Linked DNA regions of Homo sapiens: region 2 is linked to region 1. The links are contacts of gene promoters, found by promoter capture Hi-C in human tissues and cell types (Jung and others, 2019). All regions are on one chromosome and are shown on one strand. The core of a region is centred on a gene start or on the middle of the fragment in contact, and the rest is flanking DNA. Distances in the headings are between cores, read along the strand shown.

Region 1 (5,321 bases), core at 1,698-4,197:
AGAGACCAGAGTTCCTCAGCACTGCCAACTACTCAAGAAAAACATTGCTGAGTGGACATCTACTGGGGGTGAGGCACATCTGGGCAAGTATGCCTGGGAACACCCCCAATAGAGGACGATAACAGACAGAGTCACCCTAGATAGGTAGCTCTCAAATATCTGCGCACAGCTTGTCCACCTTGCAGATGTTTCGTGTCCTCCGTCTGGTGCCTGTCTCAGATATAGATGGGTTCGAGTTCTCACATAGCCCTTGTTGCTGTGTTGTAAGCAAAATCATTTCCATATTAACTCTGACCAAAATTCAAGAAATTAAACCAGTAGCATAAAAATAGCCATAGGATGAATTCCATGGCCAAGCAGAAATGGTTTGTGGAATAACCACTTTGTATGTCTGAATCCTGCCTATAATCCTCGTTGAGGGTCAAGTGCGGATTTCTTCCAGTTGCGGTACTATTATTTCTACTTGGAGTTGAAAAGACCCCTCTAAGTCTTCTGGTGCAACGGTTTTCTAGTTTTATTTTAGTGAGAGAGGCTTTTCTTCAAAGGAGATCCTATCTGAAAGCTGACATGTAACTTAGATTGACCCCGAGCTGCTGGTGTGAGGGACCTGGCGCCCTGCCAGTGGAGCCTGCTCTTCCCTTCCAGAGCTCCTGGGAGGACAATTTGAAAAACACATATGCACATCCCCTTACTAATTTATTCACTCACTCACTCATTCACAAACAATAATATCTCTTGAGCACCTACTGTGTTGCAGGTGGAGCCAGCAGGCAACGGCACAAAGGCAGTCCCGCTTTTGGTGAGCTCACATTGTAGTAGGATGTGGCAAAGCTAAGTTCAGACAGGTCGCAAGTGCTAGGAAGGAACAATGATGTGATCATGGCTGGGAGGTGGCTACTTTAGATGGGGGATCAGGAAAGGCCTCTCTGAGGAAGCAAAACACAGTTGAAAACAGAATGATAATCTGGAAAGATGCCCTGATTTGGACCAAAGAAGAAGCAGACCCAGAGAGGTGATGTGACCTTCCCCAGGCAGGGAGCTGAGCCGGGACCTGACCTGGGTTGCCGGCATCTCCCATCCAAGGATCTTTCCTTTTACAAACACTACTAAACAGCTATCACATACAAAGAAGTCTCAGTGACAGGTGACATCCGAGGGTGGACAAACCACCCAACTACATCCTGGAATTCGGTGCCGTCTGTGCATGACTTTTGATGCCTCCCTCCTTCTTCAGCCCAGTCCAGCGTTGGCCCTGGGTCTGAAGGCACTGTAACCCAAGAGATAGAACTTGGTGGTGGACACCCCAGGCCTGTGACCTTGGCTGGGAAAGCTTCTTCATCTCCTATCTCCCTGGCTACAAACTGTGAAGGGTGCTCCTTACTGCTTCATTTGGCGGCATAAAAAGAAAAGCAAGTTGGTGGTTATAAATGTCCTGGGCTCATCTGAAGAAAGGCTCTCTGGAAAGTCAAGGTGCTCTAGGCAGACTTAAAGACATCAACGCCAGTTTTCCTCTTGTTCTGCAGCACTCACACAAGAACTATGGGGAATCACACAGGCCTGTACATATTTTACACACGAGTCCAAAGGTGGGTATAAAATTCCTGCTATGCTGAATATAGTGGGAAACAGCACACAAATGCCTCCCTCTGCTACCCACAAACCAAACAGCTCTGGGCCACCTAAGCCCTCGCCAGACCACCAACTTGGCCCCTGTAGGCCAGTAGTGCCCCTTACCCTAGGAGTCTTAACTATCATCAAAGCATTTCCAGGCATTAATTGGAGCCTCCAGTCCCTTGGGAGACAGATGGGGCCAGTGGTTATTAGTCCCATTTTGCACAAAAAGCAACTGAGCCCCAGATGACCTATCTGTCCAGGGAACAATGCTACTGACACAGTGACAACCATTAAGTTCTGATTCAAACCTGTCTCCAGCCTCTAACTGCTGCTTTCCACTGCAATCCAGCTGCCCACAAATTGAACACAGACTATCCACTTTGGCCTAATACCACCCTCATTCTCTTCTTCACGCTCCCCCACACACACCCTATGCCCCAGAGTGCACTTATGAGTTTTTCCAGAAGCTGCCTCTTCTCCTCACCCCCCACCCCCACGCTCACCTCACAATACTTGCCACGAACTGGAGACCTCTGGAACACTTATTCCTCCTGCACACAGCAGCTTAGACTCAAGTTAAGATGCTGTCCCGCCAAGCCCAACTGGGCTGCCTCCCTTTCATACTTTCCACCAATTCACACATGTGCACACTGCACATATGGCTGGTGAAAAGGATACACCCCAGAACCTTCCATGCCTTCTTTCCACACGGAGCCGGCCAACTGCACATGCAGGGATGGGCACGAAAACACAGGTGACAGGGCCTACACAGCCATGTTGTCACAAATACACAGACGTGCCCAGAACATGAGGACATCCCTGCACAGGCAGACAGGCCCTCTGAAAGCAATGTGCACCAGATACAGCATTTTGGTGTAGCCATGAGAGGCAGCTACTCGAATTCAGGGTGGACAAAGAATGACATTTTCAAGAGGAACAGACATGCCCCGGGCACGCTGGACGGCACGAGGCCCTCAGAGGCCCAGAGCTCTCTCCCAAGGCACAAGTGCAGAAAGGCAGACTCATGCGCATAGTTATGGACACCGTGTTGCGTGTCCCATGCAGACACCAATACCTGCTCACATGCCCCGCGAGTGTCCCAGGCATTCCTGCCTCCTCCACTCCTCATCCCCAGCCGGCTTCCCTCTGCCCGCCCGGGGGAAGCTCGGGACAGTCTAGCTCGGGACTGCCGGCGGGGCGGGCAGCGGAGGTGGAGGCGCCTCTCCTGGACCCCCAGCCCCCTCCCGCGGCGCCCCCACTCCTCGGGCGCGCTTCTGCACTTACCCTGCCAGGGGCTCCGGAAGCGGCGAAGGGAGCTGCGCCTAGAGAGACTGAGAGCGGCGGCTCCCGGGGCCGCCCAGCCGCCCACCGCCCGCAGCCAGCGCTCCTCCCTCCCAGCCCGGGAAGGTCAGCGTGTGGGCAGCCCGGCCCGCGCCCCTGCGCCCACTGAGGCTTCCTGCCGGCCCTCTAGTCCCCGCCTGCCCAGCGCTCGGCCGCGACGCCCCGGCGCCGGCTCTCCCAGCCCAGCCGGCAGGACGCGCCCGGGAGCCCCGCACGCGAGCTGCCGGCTCTTTGTTTGGGGGTTTGCCTCTCTGCGATTCAGAGCACGCGGAGGGAATTAAGTCAGAGTCCGAGGCAGCTGTGCGGTTGCCGGGGGGATCCCTAAGGGGGGCGGGGCAAAAGGACGGACTAGTAGGGCGGTGGAGCGGCTTTCAAACTCCCCGCGCTCCGCAGCTCCCCGCTTAGGTCTCCCTGCCCTTTACGTTTGTCGGCCCCTGGGAGAGGTTGGCCTTTGGGGGTTTCCAGGGACCCTAGGGACAAGCCTGTCTGATAAGAGAGAGGTTCTCCATCCCCCTTCCTCACCAGCCCCCATCACTGCCGTGTCCCTCTTAGAGTCCTGTGGAGCATCAGCTTTACATTTCCTGGGCCCCGGGGAGAATCAAGGTCTCTCTAATCTGAAGCAAAAAGGAATAACAGAGAGTAGAGCCCATCTGTTCCTGCTGAGTCCCTGTGAAGGTGCAAAGCTGGCCCTAACGGGACTGGCCCTAACAGTGGGGCATGGATTATCTATTTCCCAAAGTAACAAGGGCCTTGTGCTTATCCAACCGTGTTCTTTTGAAACTTAGCTGCAGTGAGGAAGATTACCCATTTACCAGGTTGCTAGATCAGGGAAGCCACTGGAGGCAGGGGACGCTGACAAAGCCACTGTACCGGGAGCACCAACGTTCTAAATACCCCAGCTGGCTGCTGAGAAGGGCTTCGCGGGGGGCCACACAGGAAGGAGATGATTCCAATAGTCCCGTGAGATGAGGACCTTAACTGGGGGATGAATGCGGAAGCTGCAGCAAAGGAGAGTCTACAGACTGTGTGGTGTAGGAGGAGCACACTGGGGCTGTAACATTGTGGAAGTCTGGAGGAGAACCTGGAGTGATGTGACTGAGTTTAGTGTGGAGCAAGTTGGATTGGAGAAGCAGGCCACCTTCTTCCAGGGGCAGATATCCAGCAAATGCAATTGGAAGGGTGATTCTGGAGTTCATAGGAGAGACTGAGGCAAGGGATGTCAATTTTGGAATCATCTGGAAAGAAGTTGGGCCGACACAAGAGGTGGAGGGAGAGGGTAGAAAAGGTACAGAGAACAGGGCTGAAGACAGAATCTAGGTCTACCGAGAAGGAGCCCATGAAAGGAACGGAAACTATCAGGAGAAACCATAAGGGAAGGTCAGGACTGTGCGGGGTGTCAGGACTCAGGAGAAGAGGGAGGTTCAATGGGGGCCGGGGCCCGGGCTGCAGGGACACCACGGAGGAGGGCGCCCAAGAAAATAGGTTTAGATTTAGAAAGAAGGAGATCTCTGGGCTAGTTCAAGATAACTATTTGAGTGGTGGCTTATATAAACCAGGTTGCCACTCCTTGGGGCGGGGCATCTGTATCTCGGATCCAATTGGTTGATGGGGAGATACAAAGGTTCACCTCTTTGCTTCCATTACGGAGGGCCCTGAAGGGCCACCCCAGCTCCATAGCTTCCCAAGGGATCCGCCGAGGCCTCTGTGGAAAGCAGCACAGTTAAAGTTCATTCTCTGCCGAATCCTGTTTCCCTCACTCTCTCAAGGTGTTGTTCCCAAGAGCACGTCCCAGGAGACCTCCCACATACCATCTCCATCTCTGTGCAGAGTCTGTTTCCTAGAAATCCAACCGGAGGTACAGGGACACTGAGAAAGGGCGCAGGAAACAAAACTTGGCCTCTAACGGAGCAGTTTAAACAGACAGGGATGGTTAGAAAGACTCAGAGAAGGTGGTGTGAAGGAAAGAGCCTGGGGAATGGGGAGCGAAGAGGAAGCTTATTCGTAGTAGAAGATGGATTTTCAAAAGCCGGATGGAAGAGAGAAGAGTGGAGTAGGCCCGAGGAGGGGAGAATGCTGGAAGAGGGTAAGGGTGAGGGGAGGTCAGTATTCACCAAAGTTAATAACATTAAAACAGCAATGAGGAAAGAGAGGGTTGGAAAACGGCCTGGAGTGACTTTCTAGCAGTAGGAGAGGGTGAGTGATGAATGAAGCTCTGGGCTAGGGTAGTCCCTCTCCAGCAGTATCCCCAGTAACATTAAACGTTTACAGTGGAGAACCAATGGAAATATAATATGTAATTAAAAATTTTCCGTGAGCCACGTTTAAAAAAAAAAATCAATATAAAGAAACAGGTGAAAGTAATTGTA
Region 2 (5,321 bases), core at 2,002-4,501, 130 kb before region 1:
CAAATCTTTTAGTAAGATTTTTTTCAAAAATGGTAAAGGAATACTTAAATATTTGGGCAGTACAGTCTAGCAGTTTTGGAAGTTTGCCCTAGTCTCCAGATCTTGCCATTCAAGTGCAAAAACAACTGGGCTTTCTCCTCAATTAGTAGACACTGAACAAAAGCATCCTTTAATTCCTATGCTGAGAACCAGCCATAATCCCCTGGGGTAGCTGTAAGTGGGGTATATGGGTTAGCCACGATTGGGTGGGTATCTTGAACGATGTCATTAATAGCTCTCAAATTTGCACAAATTGATACTAATTGGAGTTTGGTTTCTTCACTGGCAAGATAGTGGTATTGTATTGAGACTGTCATGATTGAATAAGTCTGTGCTTTAGAAACCTGTGTAATCCCCCTGTATGACTTCTAATTCTTTACCTTTTAAGCAGTGTTGTTTTTATGTGGAATTAATGCTTTTTTAAATTCAACGTGCACAGGCTGAGCTTTGACTGCTAGTTCAGGTTCCCTTGTCTTCCCAAACAGTGCAACTCCCTCTGTTGTAGACTTCCAGCAGGAATGGTTCTTGAGTTCTTTTCTCTGGCTGAATCACCAGTGCCTGTAGGCATAGGACATGTTTGGGTGATACCTGGATTCTTAGATGTTGTTTCTCAGGAGCAAAAGTGACTTGGGCATTTAATTTACATAACAAATCTTGGCCCAACAATGGAATAGGGCAATGTGGCATATACAGAAAGCTATACCTCAATCTTATATCCCTCAATTTATATTCTTAGGGCTTAAGAAAGAGTCTCTGTTGTAACTTCCCAGTGACTCCAGCCTTGGCTGGAAACATTGCTACAGTATCAACCAATAAGCCAGTCATTTTGTTCCCCACTGTCGCTTGTACCCAGGGCTCCTGTAGGGAAATTACTGTTGCTCTGTTAAATCAGGCGGAGTCCCTGTGCCCCATCAGTCTTCATCAGAGTCACAATCCTGCTCCACCATCTCCTTCTTTGGCGTATATTTCCCTTTTCCTCTCCCTTGTCTTTTTTATTACCATCTTTTCTCTGTAGCTTAGGGGGGCATACTTCTCATGTCCAGATTTCCCCACTGTAGGCACACTGGTCCTTGTCTAGGGATTCCTTTCTATTTCACCCCTCATTCTTCCACCTTTTTGAACAGTCTCCATGAAAATGGTTGCCTGTCTAGCTTTTCTTGTTTCTCTAGCATTGAAGTCTTTGTAAGCAATATCTGTAAACTGGGAAGGGTTCATTCCAACAGTCCCTTCCTGCTTTTCTAATTTTCTGTTAATGTCAGAAGCACTTTGGCTGATGAAAGTTATATTTATGACCCAAACATGTTCCAGAGCCTCTGGATCAATATCTGAATATTTTCTGTAAGCCTGTTACACTTGTTTCAACCAAGCTGCTGGGTTTTCACTGGCCTCCTACCAGAGGTCATGGATGTTTTTTATTGAGGCTTTGCTGCTTAGGTACTCCCTTTCTTAGGAGTAATCCTACAGTCAAGATATAACCTCATTATTAAGGTTTCATTTGCGTTTCACTAAGGAAATTGCCTCTGGGATGTTGGAGGACCCAGCAGGGTCTTCCTGGTATAGCCTTCTGGCTCCATCATTAGTCTTGTCTAAAAATAACCCCCTTTCATCATAAAATTTAATAATGCTTGTACACCTGCTATTGTGGAATGATGAATAGAAAAAATACTGGTGAATATTTCAGTCATCTCCTATGGATCATCCCTATAGGATGGACTTGAATATTTTTCCATTTACTTAGTCAAAGATAGAAAATGGTGAATAACCAAAATAGCCCAGGAGTATGGCCCTGTGCATTTAATCCTCCAGCGGGGAATTTGCATAACAGAAATTGTTCTGCCGCATGAGGGTGTACGCTGTGGTCAAATTTAGTTGCCTTGTCAGGTCTTAAAAGGGGAGCCTATTTCTTGGCTACCTTTAAAATGAGGAGGGGCCACCACACCCTGTAAGTCTGTATTATCTGGATAATCCTCTGGTGGAGGGGGCAGAGATGGGGCAACTCAGGGTACTGTGCTGGTACTGCAGCTGGGGCCTCCATGGGAGCCTGCACAGGTGCCAGAGCAGGCTGCAATGGGACAGGCACCTGCAAAGCCTCAGCATCATTTGCCTGTGGAGGGTTTATAGTTGACAAGATTATCCTATCTCCTTCTTTTCCTCCTCAGGTAATGGAGAGTGAGGAGATTTTACCTGATATGGTCCTGTTTGCACCATCAGCCAGCAACCTTTCTGGGAAGCGTGCTTATTATGTACCAACATAAAAGCTTGAATATAAGGTATGCAGTCCCAATTTCCTGATCTCAGATTGAAATGTTCAAGCTGTATAACATTAAATTCAAAGAACCATGTAATGGCCACCTATCTTCCTCATGTATCACGTACATTGACCACACCTTATTGCAGTAGATTATCTTTTTTGTCGTAGGGTTATCACTGTAGGCTTACCAGTCAGCCAATATGAACCACAGTGGGCTCTGAGAGGGGACTGATGAAAAAAACTTCCCATGGTGGACACAAACAAAACACAACCAAAACAAATGAAGCACTTTTCCAACCCAGGCTTTCACAAAGGAAGAGACTGGTATGGAGTCACTATGAGTCATTTCTTCTACCAGTGGTACCACAAATGGTCCAAAGGCCCAAATGGTAAAGAAAGTGGACTACTACTTTGCACCCCAGTAGACTTACCTGGTTGTACAGCTCATCAGCTCATCCAAAAAGCTAGTTTCCCAGCACTTTGGGAGGCCAAGGCGGGCGGATCACGAGGTCAGGAGATGGAGACCATCCTGGCTAACAAGGTGAAACCCCGTCTCTACTGAAAATACAAAAATTAGCCGGGCATGGTGGCGGGCGCCTGTAGTCCCAGCTACTCCTAGGATGCTGAGGCAGGAGAATGGCATGAACCCAGGAGGCAGAGCTTGCAGTGAGCCGAGATTGCGCCCCTGCACACCAGCTTGGGTGACAGAGCGAGACTCCATCTCAAAAAAAATTAAAATAAAAAAAATAAAGCTAGTTTCCTTTCACCAACTAAAAGCAAAAGTAGGCAGTCAGTACTGAATGGGGGAAAGGAGGAAGTTTCCCTGAAGTAGAAAGAGTTTTGGCAGCCTCTCTTTGGCAGACTTTGGGGCTGTCTCTGCAGTTCCCTTCTGCCATGAGTAGCCAGTGCCACAGAGCATTTGCCGCTAACCTCTGGTAATGTGAATGAGTTAGCCCTGACCTGCTGCCGCCATCAATTGCTCCACCTCTTGGGAACCAAGAAGTCCTCCCAACAATATGGATGAGTTAGTCCTGGTATGAAGCTGTGACCAATTGCTTTGTCTGTTGGGAGCTGACAGGGTGCAAACAGCCCAGAGCACACGGCTTCTGGCTGGGCTTGCCAAAATTTGTAACCAAACCCAGATCTAGGCCACTTGTTGCTTGAAAGCCAAAAGTCTAGAGACAAATGTTGGTGAAAGGGAAAGTTAGCTACATTCAGGAAGCCAAAAACTCGAGGGAGGCTGTGAACTCATCTTCAAAGACCACCTGTCTGATCCGGGAGGTTTTAAGGGAAATTAGGAGCAGGGCAAACAATGATCGAAGCATTTCACAAAAAGTTTTTGTTACTAAGCCTGACCTAACCTGAAAATAGCCTTAGCTTTTTTTCTCTCTCTCTTTTTAGACACAGGGTCTCACTTTGTCACCCAGGCTGGAGTGCAGTGATGTTATCTTGGCTCAGTGCAGCCTTGACCTCCTGGACTCAAGTGATCCTCCTGAGTAGATAAGATGACAGGCATGCACCACCATACCTAGCTATTATTATTATTTATTATTATTATTATTTTTGTTTGTGTATAGGCAGGGTCTCGCTTTTCTGCACAGGCTGGTTTCATCCTCCTGGCCTCCAGCAATCCTCCTACCTCAGCTTCGTGAAGTGCTAGGAATACCAGTCTGAACCACTGTACCTGGCTGATCAGAGCATTCTTATGAAACATGTGAAGTCTCAGGCAGGCAGGCAGGCAATCACTGTTTTCTTGGTCAATGTTGTATGACCTTCTGCAGGTACCATCAGGCTATTCTTATCAAGCCACTTAGCCCATTCCCAGAGTTGTTTGTCAGTGTTTTTTCTTTTATGTCTGCTGAAGATCCTGTATTTCTGAGGCTGTTTTTAATGAATAATCTACAGTCTCAGGAAAAGCAATAACTGTATTCAAGCAAACAAGCTTTTCTCTAACATGGAGTCAGTACTGTTATAGTTTTTTGTTTTTTTGGTTTTTTTTTTTTTTTTGATTCAGAGTCTCTCTCTGTTGCCCAGGCTGGAGTGCAGTGGCGTGATCTCTGCTCACTGCAAGCTCTGCCTCCTGGGTTCACGCCATTCTTTTACCTCAGCCTCCCGAGTAGCTGGGACTACAGGCACCCGCCATCATGCCCGGCTCATTTTTTTTTTGTATTTTTAGTAGAAACAGGGTTTCACTGTGTTAGCCAGGATGGTCTCGATCTCCTGACCTCGTGATCCGCCTGCCTTGGCCTCCCAGAGTGCTGGGATTACAGGCATGAGCCACTGTGCCTGGCCATGTACTGTTCCAGTTTTATCCAATAGTGCATACAATTTAGAAGCAGTGAAAAACATTCTGATTATGACCGACTTCAAAGATGTAATGTCAGTCCATTCTGGCCAATGTGGAAACAGGTTCTATGGTCTTTCCATATCTTTCAGTGTTCTCAGAACCAAGTTTCAATAGCCTTAATATTTCATTACTTTTGAGAAAAAAGAAAAAGTTGCCCTCTGACTTCATGCCAGAAAAACTGCTAAGGATTTTATATTATCTCCTTAAATCCTCACAGCAATGTTGATAGATTAAGTCAATCCCTCAGGATTGGGTTTGCCTGTGATAGAAAACTCACACTCCCTTGCCCCCTTATGAACAAAGTCTGAAGGTAAACTGTGCAAAATGATGAATAGCTCTGCTAGCATAAGTGATCTAGGTTCTTTCTATCTTTTGGCTCTTCCGCCTTTTAATATATCACTTCCTCCTGATGGTTTAAGATCACTGTTTAGCCCCAGGCATCGTGTTTCATTCTAGTCACGAAGAAGACAGGCAGGATAGAAATGCATGTGCCCTTGCTCTTTAAGAATACTTCTTGAAAGTGCCATATGGGACTCTACCTTCCACTGCTTGGTCAGAACTTAGTTACGTGGCCACACCTAGCTGCAAGGGGGGTGGAAAACATGTTCTCCATTCCAGGTGGCCAAATGCATGGTTTTTTAAAAAGGAAGAAGGGTATTGGAGGACAGTTCCACAGAGGTGTTA

Evidence for each region. The method cuts DNA at HindIII sites, captures the fragments that hold promoters and counts their contacts. A contact is called where the count stands out against the background at its distance.
Region 2: a fragment that was not itself captured here is called in contact with the fragment with the promoter of TSPAN11 in region 1 in 2 of the 25 tissues and cell types used here (H1 embryonic stem cells and mesenchymal stem cells).

Annotation. Positions count from the first base shown.
Region 1 is chr12:30,924,374-30,929,694 of GRCh38, reverse strand. TSPAN11 (tetraspanin 11) reads right to left here and starts at 2,947. Exons shown (of 8, transcript NM_001370302.1): 1 at 2,899-2,947. It overlaps LOC124902911 (a long non-coding RNA gene), which reads left to right and starts at 3,006. Exons shown (of 2, transcript XR_007063264.1): 1 at 3,006-5,321. The HindIII fragment of the contact is 5,500 bases long and covers 236-5,321 here.
Region 2 is chr12:31,057,648-31,062,968 of GRCh38, reverse strand. DDX11-AS1 (DDX11 antisense RNA 1) reads left to right here. Exons shown (of 3, transcript NR_038927.2): 2 at 2,199-2,309. Among named protein-coding and RNA genes, the nearest start is that of DDX11-AS1, 14 kb to the left of the region's middle. The HindIII fragment of the contact is 4,210 bases long and covers 1,147-5,321 here.